Linked DNA regions of Homo sapiens: region 1 is linked to region 2. The links are contacts of gene promoters, found by promoter capture Hi-C in blood cells and fetal thymus (Javierre and others, 2016). All regions are on one chromosome and are shown on one strand. Each heading gives the region's core, a stretch centred on a gene start or on the middle of the fragment in contact. The rest is flanking DNA. Distances are from core to core; before and after follow the strand shown.

What was found. The method cuts DNA at HindIII sites, captures the fragments that hold promoters and counts their contacts. A CHiCAGO score of 5 or more calls a contact.
Region 1: a fragment that was not itself captured here is called in contact with the fragment with the promoter of GRID1 in region 2 in 4 of 17 cell types (M0 macrophages, M2 macrophages, M1 macrophages and 1 more); the score reaches 20.7 in M0 macrophages.

What each region holds. Positions count from the first base shown.
Region 1 is chr10:86,101,287-86,106,847 of GRCh38, reverse strand. The region is part of intron 4 of GRID1 (glutamate ionotropic receptor delta type subunit 1); the gene reads left to right. Among named protein-coding and RNA genes, the nearest start is that of MIR346, 160 kb to the left of the region's middle. RefSeq lists an enhancer at 1,804-2,304. The HindIII fragment of the contact is 6,346 bases long and covers 1-5,561 here.
Region 2 is chr10:86,365,251-86,371,126 of GRCh38, reverse strand. It overlaps GRID1 (glutamate ionotropic receptor delta type subunit 1), which reads left to right and starts at 4,332. Exons shown (of 16, transcript NM_017551.3): 1 at 4,332-4,813. The coding sequence starts at 4,735. RefSeq lists silencers at 3,634-3,843, 3,954-4,343, 4,364-4,413, 4,644-4,843, 4,874-5,023. The HindIII fragment of the contact is 11,562 bases long and covers 1,122-5,876 here.

The DNA of each region.
Region 1 (5,561 bases), core at 1,685-4,184, 260 kb after region 2:
CTTAGCCGCCACCTCCAACGGCCTCATCCTGGAGCCTGCCCATTCCCGGAACTCTCCATTGCCAGCGGCCATGCAGTCCTGCCCTTCGTTCCCTTGCTTCCGTAGACATGCCCGTGCACCTCACCAAGACCCCTCTTCTCACTGCACATTCCTGATCATCTCTGATGATCAGGAATCAGAGAAGTGAATGACTTGGCCCAAGTGTGCAGCCCAGGAAGAAATGTTTGACTTGAACTCAAGGCTCCCTCCTCCCATCCCCGCACCTGAAGCAGGCTCCTCCCTCTATCCCCACACCTGAAGCAGGCCCATTCTCCCATCCCCACACCTGAAGCAGGCCCATTCTCCCATCCCCACACCTGAAGCAGGCCCCTCCCTCCATCCCCACACCTGAAGCCAGAACCTCCCTGTATTCCCACACCTGAAGCTGGCCCCTCCCTCCATCCCATAATCTAGATGAGATTTTGTGTTTTGCTTTTTTGACCTAACATCCTGGGATAAACATTTCCTGTGTGGTTGCAAAGCCTTTCTAATCGTCATTTTTAGTGATTGCATTGAGATGAAGAATTGTTATTGCATACCCTACCTAATGTTTCCTGTTGTTGGACATTGTGACTGTTTCCAATCTTCAATTTTTTTTTGACGGTGTTCAGTGTAAACCTGCATGTGCAGTGTTTGATTTTTCTCATTTGGATTATTGCTGACAGGAAATTTCCTAGAGCAGGAGCAAAGGGTCAGGGAAGGACAGACACTTGGGGAGCTCTCAGACCCTGGAGCTCATGGTCCCCAAGACCGTGGTCTTGACTGCCATGCTGAGCAGTGGATATCATCATCCTCCTTTGCAATTGGGAACACTGGCCTTTCCAACATCTTCTCTCACAAGGCTTCCTCTCCCTGAAGCAGCCCCCATCCTCTTGTCCCCCTTGCATACCATGCTAACTCTACCATCATTTTCCTCTCCCCATCGCGGCTCCTCAGGGCAGCATTCCTGGGTGACCTGTGGTGCCCAGGCCAGTTAGACACATGCACAGTGCCCGTGCTTTTCCCTCAGGGTGCAGACTTCACTCTGCAATGATCTGTCTGTCACAGGCTTATTTGACTGATGTCAATCTCTCCCCTAGATTCCAACCTTTGCTGGAGAGGGGGGATGGCATCTTTCTCTCCACAGTGCCGGCTCTGGTGCTTGGCACACAGAAGAGGCTTCAGTGCTTGCTGAATGGGGAATGAAGGCTCCGTGTGCCCCGGACACTGCTGGGGAGGGGCAGCTGGCCCCTAGGGCTCTGCTTTCATTGAAGAGCGTGTTCCCCACCCAATCTAGATGTGTGCCTCAGAAGGCTAGGACTCAAGTGTGGGAATTGTGTGAGAGCCACAGGAGGCAAGAACAGCCAGTGCTGTGTGTTCTGAAGAGATAGCGTGGTGCAGAATCAAACAGGGCATCTGTAACAGACAGACCATGCTTCTGACCGGCTCTGTGCTCCACAACTGTGAGACCTTGGCCAGAGCGCTACACCCTCTGGGCCTCAGTTTCCTGGTCTCTGTGGTGGGCACACTCCAGGCCTTAATGGACAGGCATAACCTTGCCCACCCTCACTGTCTTCTTGGGCAGACTGAAGCTATCCCAGTGCCTATTTCATGCAGCTCTTTCCTCAGGTATTTGGGGTAACAGTTCTTGAGAAAACATGGCTCGTTAAATTGAAAAGTGCTTCTCCAACTTCCTGGGAAAGAGGATGGCACTAACCCTGTCCAGATCTTCAGAGCCACCGTAAATCACTTCCTTAAAAATCCCAAACTTGTGTGTAATTATGTGACTATGTAATGAAGTCAGAAGTGGGTAGGATTGATTTGTCAGGTGAATTAATCTCCACAGCAAGTGGAGGCACATGGGGGCACGAGGCCTGTCACAGCCTTGTCACCTGCTGCAGGCTTCACTGGCTTCCTGCTCTCAATGCTGTACCTTTTGCCCCCCTGTCCGCTGTCGCACACCCTAGGCACTTCATCGGCCATGCATGAAGGTCCAGTGCACTGTCTCAGGCCGGGTCCTGGGAATAAGATACCAGGCTGAATTCAGCTGGACCTGACCATGGTGCATGCTAGGGTGTGGGTTTGTGTCCAACATTGAAGGGACAGAGGCAGAGCCCTGTGGTCCTGAGGGCCTGGAGGGTGGGGCAGCTGGGCCAGGCCCTATGGAACAAGGCAGGAATGACTCTGGGCATTCAGTCTGCCGAGGATTGCCCCTGATGTATGGCATGGAAATGTTCTCTGGCCGCAGAGGAGCTGGTGCTCCCTTTGTGTCATGCTGCCTGTCTGCTGCCAGCTAGGGCTGGGGGCCTTGTGAAGCACTGAGCATGGTGGGCATGCACCTGTCTGGGCCATCCTTGCAGCAGGGACCTTTACCCTGGGAGGGAATCCTATGCCCTGGCTAAGCAAGTGGGTGTGAGTTGTGCCCCTCGTGGGTTGGAGGAAACAGGTGTGGGATGCCTGTGCCGGGCCTTCTCGTGGGTGTCTGGCCACCCCTGCACCTGCTGAGGCCTGGCTTCCAGAGTTGGAGGGAACTTCACAGAGCAGGCGTGGTTGGGTCTGGGGTCCCAACTGCACCCTGAGCTCTGAGCTGGGCTGGCCAGCAGCTTTGCAAGAGGAACTAGCCCCTTCTACCTGCCAGGTTTGGATTTGAACCCTGGTCCGTATGTCTCCAAGCCTGTTCTTGTTAAAGAACAGGGTGGGCAGAGAGTGGAGTGGTGCCTACCCCGTGGGATAAGGCACCTACCTCTCTGCCAGACTGGAACAAGTATGCACATGTGCACCCTTACACATGTGTGTAGCTGAAGAGAGTCTGAAGGCCACATCAGAGAGCCATGCTTATGAGGGAAGTGCGGCAGGGGGAGCTGTCCTCCTGAGGCCAGGAGGAACAGTTGTGATGAATGAGATTGGGAGGCAACACCATGAGGGCTGTGCCCAGCATCTGTCACTGGATGACTGATTGATTGCCCCATGTGCAGGGTTCAGCCCAACAGTGGTTAGTAATGATTCTCTCTCTCTCTCGTGACATGGTTGGGCCAGGGGAGGTGGGCAGTGTCCCAGGGTGGCCTTACCCTCTGTCCTTGCTACCCTTGAGGTACAAGGCACACACCTTTCCTAAGGGCCCCCCACTGTGGCAAACGTTTAAGAGCCATGGCTGGAGCAGAACGTGAGATGCTGTGGAATGAAGGGGAGCCTGTTCCTGTCCCCTAAGAAGGCATTACATAAGCAGCATCGGGAGTCCTCTTCCTCCGGGGCCTGTCTGCAGTTTCACTGCTTGTCCACATGGGCTCCAGCTCCCATGGCTGACGCTTGCTTGGGGGAGCCTAGGCCTGTGGCCTGGGGGTGCAGTTGAGCCTCCTTACATGGCATAATGTGAATCTAGCCCTGGGCACTAAGCTGAGGCTGAGAGGGTGGCAGGGAACTGCGGGCCTCATCACAGGCTCACAGGGAATGACTGAGGGCCTCAGAATTCCCCACCTGGGCCCTATAGGGAATTGATGGCCAGCTCTGGTCTCTGGCCCCAGGAGGTCAGCCTCAGGTGGCAGAGTGGCAGCCGACTCTGGTGCTGTCCTCTATCCTGGCTCCACCTCTGTTGCACACAGGGGCTTAGTGGGCTGACCAGTGAGGGGTGTGGTCATAGCTGCCAGCCCCTTCTGCTTGCCCATGCTGACTTTGTCCTCTTGCTTTCCTGCTGTATTAGCCCATTTCATACTGCTATGAAGAAATACCTGAGACTGGGTAATTTATAAAGAAAAAGAGGTTAAATGGATTCACAGTTCCACATGGCTAGGGAGGCCTCACAATCATGGCAGAAGGTGAAGGAGCAGCAAAGGCATGTCTTACATGGCAGCAGGCAACAGAACGTCTGCAGGGGAATTGTTCTTTTATAAAACTGTCAGTTCTCATGAGACTTATTCACTATCACAAGAACAACTTGGGAAAAACCTGCCCTCATGATTCAATTACCTCCCACTGGGTGCCTCCCATGACATGTGGGGAATATGGGCACTACAATTCAAGATGAGATGTGGGTGGAGACACAGCCAAACCATATCACCTGCCCTTCCATAGGCCTCGCAGTCTGGTTTTGAACAGAAAAAGAGGTTTAATAGATTCACGGTTCCACATGGCTGGGGAGGCCTGGCTCCCGTCCCCTGGGCCTCTTGGCACTGCTCCCAGGTAGGGCCTTTCCAGGACTGGGCACATTTATGTTGTGGGGATCAGGCCTGCATTCCTCCTTAGAGGAAGAATGATTATTCTCTGTTTAACATAAAGCAAATGGTGTGGCAGCGCCGGGCAGGGCTCTGGAACACCAGCCCCAGTTTTCCCTGTCAATGAGTGGGCATGGGGTAATGCCTTGTCCACACTAAGCCATCTCTGTGAAATGGGCCTGTGACCCTTTCTTCAGCTGCCCAGGCCCAACATCTTGATGCTGTCTTTGCTGCTTCTTCCTCATGCCCCTCATAATTAGTCCATTAGCAGTTCTGACACCATGTGTCTGGATTCTGATTACTTCTCACCACCCCAATGGCTATGTCCCTGGTCTAAGCCATTGCTGGCATCAGCCTCCTGACCTGCCTTCCTGCTTCTCACCTTGCTCCATGCAGCTTGTCATTCTGAGGCAGCCAGAGTGGCCTGTTAAAATTCTAGCTGATCATGTCATTACCCTGCTCAGAGTCTTCCTGTCTCACTGGGGTTATAGCTGGAGTCCCTGTGTGGACAAAGCAGGGCGAACACACTTCCTGGTCTATGAGGGATGGTCCCCACTTATGCCTTTTGTTCCAGAAGAAATATTCGTTCTCAGAATCATCCTGGTTTGCTCTTTGTGAATGCTTATAGCGGCTTTGTTGTAATAACCGCAAACTGGAAACCATCCCAATGTCCTTCAGCTGGTGAATGGATAACAAACTGTGGTACAGCCATACAATGGAATATTATTCAGCATTAAAAAGGGAGTTTGAGACCAGCCTGAGCCCCATAATGAGACTCTGTCTCTACAAAAAAATAAATAAATAAAATAAAATTAGCCAAGCCAGGCATAGTGCATGCCATGTAGTCCCAGCCACTCAGAAGGCTTAGGTGGGAGGATCTCTTGAGCCAAGGAGATTGAGGCTGCAGTGAGCTATGATTGCACCACACTGCACTCTAGCCTGGGTAACAGAGCAGAGTGAGACTCTGTCTCAAAAAAAAAAAAAAAAAGGAATAATGAAAAACAAACCAGGAACAAACTCCTGTTACATACAGCAACATGAGATAATTCTCAAAAGCATATGCTGAGTGACAGAAGCTGCACTCAAGAGGCCTCATACTCCATAATTTCAATTATGTGATGTTCCTGATTGGCAAAACTATAGGGGCAGAAAACTCATTGGTGTTTTCCAGGCCTAGGGATAGGAGGATTCACTACAAAGAGCCATAAGGAATTGCTGTGGGCAATGGAGCTGTTCCGTATCTTGATTATGGTGTTGGTTACATTACTGTCTAAGTTTATAAAACTCATAAGATTATACATTCAAAATAATGCATTTTGCTATGTAAATTACACT
Region 2 (5,876 bases), core at 3,083-5,582:
TGGGAAATTTAAAGTAACAACCCACGAGGCTACCAAGAGTAAAAGTAAACTAAAAAATACAGTAATATAAAAGAACATCACATAAAATAAATACAAGCTGAGAAACAGTAAAAATAAGATGAAAGAGGTTGGCAAGAAAGGGTAGTAAGGAAGACAAAGTAGAGACAGAGAATTCACATTCAACTGAAGAGCCAACACAGCGCTGGGAGAACAGACGAAATAAGCAATAAACAAGGGTGTTTTAAAAAAAAACCAAAAAACAAATCTGGCGTGGTGGCTCACACCTGTAATCTCAGCACTTTGGGAGGCGAGGCAGGAGGATTGCTTGAGTCCAGGAGTTCAAGACAGCCTGGGAAACATGGTGAAACCCCATCTCTACAAAAAATGAAGAAAATTATCTGGGCATGGTACCATGTGCCTGTGGTCTCAGCTACTCAGGAGGCTGAGGTGGGAGGATTGCTTGAGCCCAGGAGGTCTAGGCTACAGTGAGCCATGATCACATCAGTGTCCTCCGGCTTGGGTGACAGAACAAGACCCTGTCTCCAAGAAAAAATTGAAAACAGGAAAAACCCAATGGGTTAAGAGAGGAAGGCAGCAGTGAGATTTTCTGAGCTTGGATCTTGGCAGAAAGTGGGTTCCCTGGAGCCTGTAGTGACGGATGAGGCTGGCAGCAAGACCCCTTCCCAGATGCCTACAGACTCTTCCCTGGGGGCTTGACCTTAAGACCTGGGTTGGCCTCCACCCTGTGTACACGGGACAGCTGGGTTCCATGCCAAAGCCTGCAGAGAATTCCCCAGGCTTGGACTTGATCTTTCTTTGCAGGCAGGGCCTGGGCCGAATTGTCTTCCATATCACTGGTGGGCTCTGTGCTGAGGAGGGAATGAGGAAGATAGAGTTTTTGGGCCCTCCCTGGAGACGCATGGTTCAGGAGGGGCACTTCTGCAGGGGTTGGGCACTGGTGGTTCCACATCAGGCAGGCAGCTCCTCAGGATTGTGCCCAGGAGGCAGGTCACTTGGAGGGCCAGGACTCCAGCTGGCTTTTCCTTAGTCCAGCTTTTGGATGGGGTGAGAAAGAAGGCAATGGAGAAAGGAAAGGTCTGCATTTCTGGAATGACAAAGCTTTAAGTCACAATGATTGTAGCTTCCAAGTAGACCACTGAGGCCTCTCTCTGCCTTGACATTTCATCTACAGCTTCTGTGGCCAACTACTAGCGTCCAGTGTTGTTTCAGTTGAGATTCCTGATGAGCCCAGTTTTATCTTTTTGCACCCTCCTTCAATTTCCTTGTGTGTAAAATGGGATGACCATCTCCTCGGTAAGATGTCAGGTGGTGAGCACAGTGCCTGCATGTGGTAAGTGCTAAAGAAAAGTAATTAGAATCAGTAAAACTGAAGAACTCTTTAGAAAAAGCAGTCACCTGTGCTGGCTGAGCTTGTGTAAAAGAAAGATTTACTGACTCAGTTTTAATTTCTGTGAATACACCTTTGTGTAGTGAGGAGCAAACCAAGAGGACTGAGCCTTGGGCCTGCCAGCAACTCACCTGATGCCTTTCTCTGGGCCTCAGTTTTTCTCTCTCTGAAGTGGATGTGTGTCATATGACCCAGAGATTTCTAATCTATCTTCTCCAGCTAGATTCTTGCATTAGGGGTGAACTTGTTCATTGGGTAGAGTTGCTTCCCCTGGTTTGGAGAGGCAGCATTTGCAGCCCCAGAGGCTATCAGGGATAAGGGTGTTGGGCCAAGAATAGCTGGGCCAGGAGCAATAAACTGTTAAGGGCTTGATGAGTCTGAGCAACTGACCAATAACATCCAATGCCCCTGGAACCTGGCAACTCCAACTTTAGGTGGCAGAGGATTAAACACATTTTGCCTCAAGGTGAGTCTGTACAGGTCCCCAGTGGTCTCTGGGCCTGCCTTCCAGCTCTGTGAGGAACAGGAGCTGAGCAAGTGCCTACAGTCACCACGCTGCCTACAGTGTCCAGGGGATTCTAGCCTGGATAGGAAAACTGGCTTGGCTGAGTGGACTGTCCCAGGGTGAGGATCTGGGAATGAGCATATGGGGATGGCAGACTACCACACGCCCTGGAAGCTGGAGAGGAAGGAGGCACCCAGGACAGAAGGTGAGGTTGCCCCAGGTCAACAACTTCCAGATGAGATCCACCTTGAGTCATGATCCTCAGATGCCAAGCCACAGGAACCTCATCACCCACCTCATCATCCAAACTGGAACTTGATGGAAATCATTCCACAACTATGTGTTGGTGGGTTGTCTTCTTAATACTTGGAAGGAGGTCTTAATACTTATCCCACTGAAATCATGCTACCTACACCTAGCAAAACATACATCAAAGAAAAACTTCTAACTGGGTATATCACATGCCCACTGTACTAACACACTGGAGAACCCCCAACAACAGGAGGCCCGGGGAGAGTCCCTGACCCACAGGGACTTCAGGTCAAGACCACACCCACCATCCTTTCAAGGTGGAGACAGTCCCCGTAGGAACCAAACTGATGTATAATAAAACTCATCATTTATTTCTCTTCTCCCTACAGCATTTCAGCCAGTGAATGGTAGAATTTTGCAGGAATAAGAATTAGAGGTGTAGAGGGTTTTGAGATGCGGGGTGGGTCAGGTTTCACTACTCAAGGACCCTAAGACAGGTTTTTGGAAGAAGTGTGTGTGTGTGTGTGTGTGTGTGTGTGTGTGTGTGTAGGACCACATTCAGCCACTCCCATGGGCAAGTATGACATATGACCACTCCTCTCTTCTTGCCCCCTGGCCTCCTTAACCTAGAAGTCACCTTGCTGGCTCATGGGATTCCTTGATACTTCTGCAATCCAGCTTCTCCGCTCCAACAGGCTGTCCCTGCCCAGCTGAGCTGGCCCACCCAGGGTTCCCTCACAGTGCTATGGGCCTCCACTGGCCCCCTCTGCACAGCCCATCCTCTCCAATCTTTCTTTCCAAAGTGAAATCTACCAATGCTTACTCTTTGGCTCTGGCCACATGAGAGACAGACAGACATACAGACACACACTTCTTTCTTTTTGCCTTGGCTCACCACTATTCAATGCCTGGAAGCCTTATTTTCTCCCTTGGGAACCTCCACTCAGTCTTTACAACTGTCATCTCCTCCAGGAAGTCATCCCTGCTCTTCTTCCCAGGCTGGTTCAGAGCCCAGGCATCTGAGCATACACAGCTCATTCATAGCCCCCCCCAACATTTAAAAGATGACTTGGTTGGGTGTCTGCCTCGCCCACTGCGCTGGGAGCTCTGGGCAAGGGCTGTGGTGGGAGCCTCTCCCCCTGGTGCGTGGCGGGAGTCCTGGGGCCCCTCCGCGGACAACAGGGCCCGGGGACGTTCCCAGGCTTGCTGGAGGAGCAGCTTTTGAACGAGGCTCTGCCAGGTCCCAGACCCCAGGAAGCTCAGCTGTCTCCTCGAAATCTTGGGGGTGCCACATGGAGCCCAGTCCCTTTCAGGCACGAGCCCACAACAGCTTAACGCTCTCTTTGGTGGTGGCCGGCCCGAGGCAGGCACCGGAGGCGGAGGGAGCCCTGTTCCGCTGTGGCCGCGAGGAGCGGGCTCTTCGCCCGGGCTCGCACATGAAAGCTCCGTGCAGGGTCGGAGTCTGAGCCCGCCGGCCGCTTGGAAGGCTCCTCACGTCCAGGCGCCGCGGTCACGGCTGCGCTGGTTTCCGGCCATGAATTGGGCTTCAGAGTCCGAGCCTCTTGCCCGACTCCCGGCTGAGCGCGCTGCCCATGGAGCGGGGGATGGGCGCCCGCCGAGGTCCGCGCGGCCAGCCAGGGTTCGAGCCCACGGCCCGGGCTCTACTCTGAGATGCTTGCGGCGGCCGGCCCCCTCTGGCTCCCCAGCTGTCCTGGGGCCTGGCCCGGCGCCCCGCCCCGGTCTCTCTTCTTGCTCCCCAGGTCCCACTCCACGAGGAACGGTCTGTTTCGGCCGGGGACATGACCCGAGACGCGCGGCTGCTGAGGTCGCCAGGGCGCTTCGGGAGCCCCTCGAGGGCAGTTAGCGGCCGGCCCTCCTCCATTCTCCCGCCCCTGGCGAACCGGAGAAGGAGGCCCGAACCGTCAGAGCTCGGCGCGCCGCAGCCCAGGCCGGTCCCCGCCGCTGTGCCGGTCTCCGAGCGTCCCCCGAGCCGGGAGCGTGGAGCACCCGGCGCCCCCTCCGAGCCGCGAGCGGGCGAGAGCCGCGCGGCGAGGCTGAGGCTCCGCAGTCACGTGGTAGAGAGGCGGGCGGAGGGGAGGGAGGCGGGCAGGGAGGGGAGGGGGAGCGGAGCTGAGGGGGAGGGGGAGGGGAGGGGGCGTCCTCCGCAGTTCGCTCCTCGCCGGGGCTCAGACACACAGCCAGCCCAGAGCCGCCACGCCGGCCCGGCCGCCGCCGCCACCGCCTCAGCCTCCCCCGAAGCCGCTCTAGCCGCGGGAAGCGCCGCTGCCACAGCCGCGGGCCGCCCCCGCCGCGCCGGCCTGGGCTCAAGCTGCCAGCACCGCCGCAGCCGCCACCGGAGCCGGAGCGGGAGCCCGACCGCGCTGGGCTGGGCTGGGCTGGGCTGGGGCGGGCGCAGGGCGCAGGGGCGGGCGCGCGGGGGAAGACGCACGGGCGGGCTCGGCTCTCCCGGGGAGCGGCCCGGGACTGCACCGGGACCAGCGCCTCCCCGCTTCGCGCTGCCCTCGGCCTCGCCCCGGGCCCGGGTGGATGAGCCGCGCGCCCGGGGGACATGGAAGCGCTGACGCTGTGGCTTCTCCCCTGGATATGCCAGTGCGTGTCGGTGCGGGCCGACTCCATCATCCACATCGGTAAGCGCGGCTGGAGGCCGGGCCGAGGCTGGGCGGGGGCCCCAACGGGGCAGGGGGTGCGCGGCGTCCAAACTTGGCGTTTCCCTGGGCCGAGGGGCTCGGCGGGCGGTGCTCCCCCGAAGGGCCGCGCCGCGCCGCCCGGCGGAGGAGCTGTGCACCGGCCGCGCCGCGCTCCCGCTGGCTGCTTGCCGCTCCCCGGGGCTCCGATCTCCGCGCGGGGCCCCGCGGCCTCTACCGACACTTAGGGCCGACGCTTCGGGGAACACCGGGATGGACGCGCGTCGAGACCCGCGCCCTTAGCGGGGCCGTCGGCGGGTCGGGAGGGCCCTTCTGCGCAGCTCAGAGCAGCGGGGGGCAGGGGGAGGTACAGCGGGGGGCTCGCCAAGTTGGCAGGGCAAGATCAAAGAGGCCGGACCGGAACCGTGTGTGAATGTGTGTGGGTGCGTGTTGTCAGCGTGTGTCGCTGTGTGCGCCTGGCACGGTGTCGGTGTTACTGTGAGAGGGTGTTGGGGTGTGTGGGGCCATCTGAGCGTGTGTTGGTGCGTGCACGACTGTCTGTCAGCCTGTTAGAGTGGACACAGTGTCTGCCTGCTTCTCCGGTGTGTGTCTGTGTAGCCCTTGGTGTATGTGTGAGTGCGTGTGTATCTGGTTGTGGCGACTGCATCCCCATCCTGGACAGTCCTAGAGTTTTGCGTGGTCCAAGTCTTGGGGGCCCAGACGGTCTGGGTGGTGGGAGCCGAGGGAAGAAGCGTGGGCAGCGGGGGGTAGGGGGATGCTGAGCGGGAAGAGATGGATAGAGAGAGAGAACCGGGAGAGAAGATGAAAGCGCAGAGGAGGAGGGGGCGCGCCGAGGGGGAGTGGGCGCGCCGAGGGGGAGTGGGTGGGAGTTGGGAGCAACACGGGAGGAATCTCGGGAAGTTGGGCCGAGTTGGGGGGCTGACAGCGGTCGCTTTGGGGGAGTCCCTCCGCAGTCGTCTTTCCGGAAGTTGGGAAAGACCAGCGAGCACAGGGAAACTGGGGGTTGGGAGGTGTTGAAGGCGAGGAGGACGGGACAAGGCGGGAG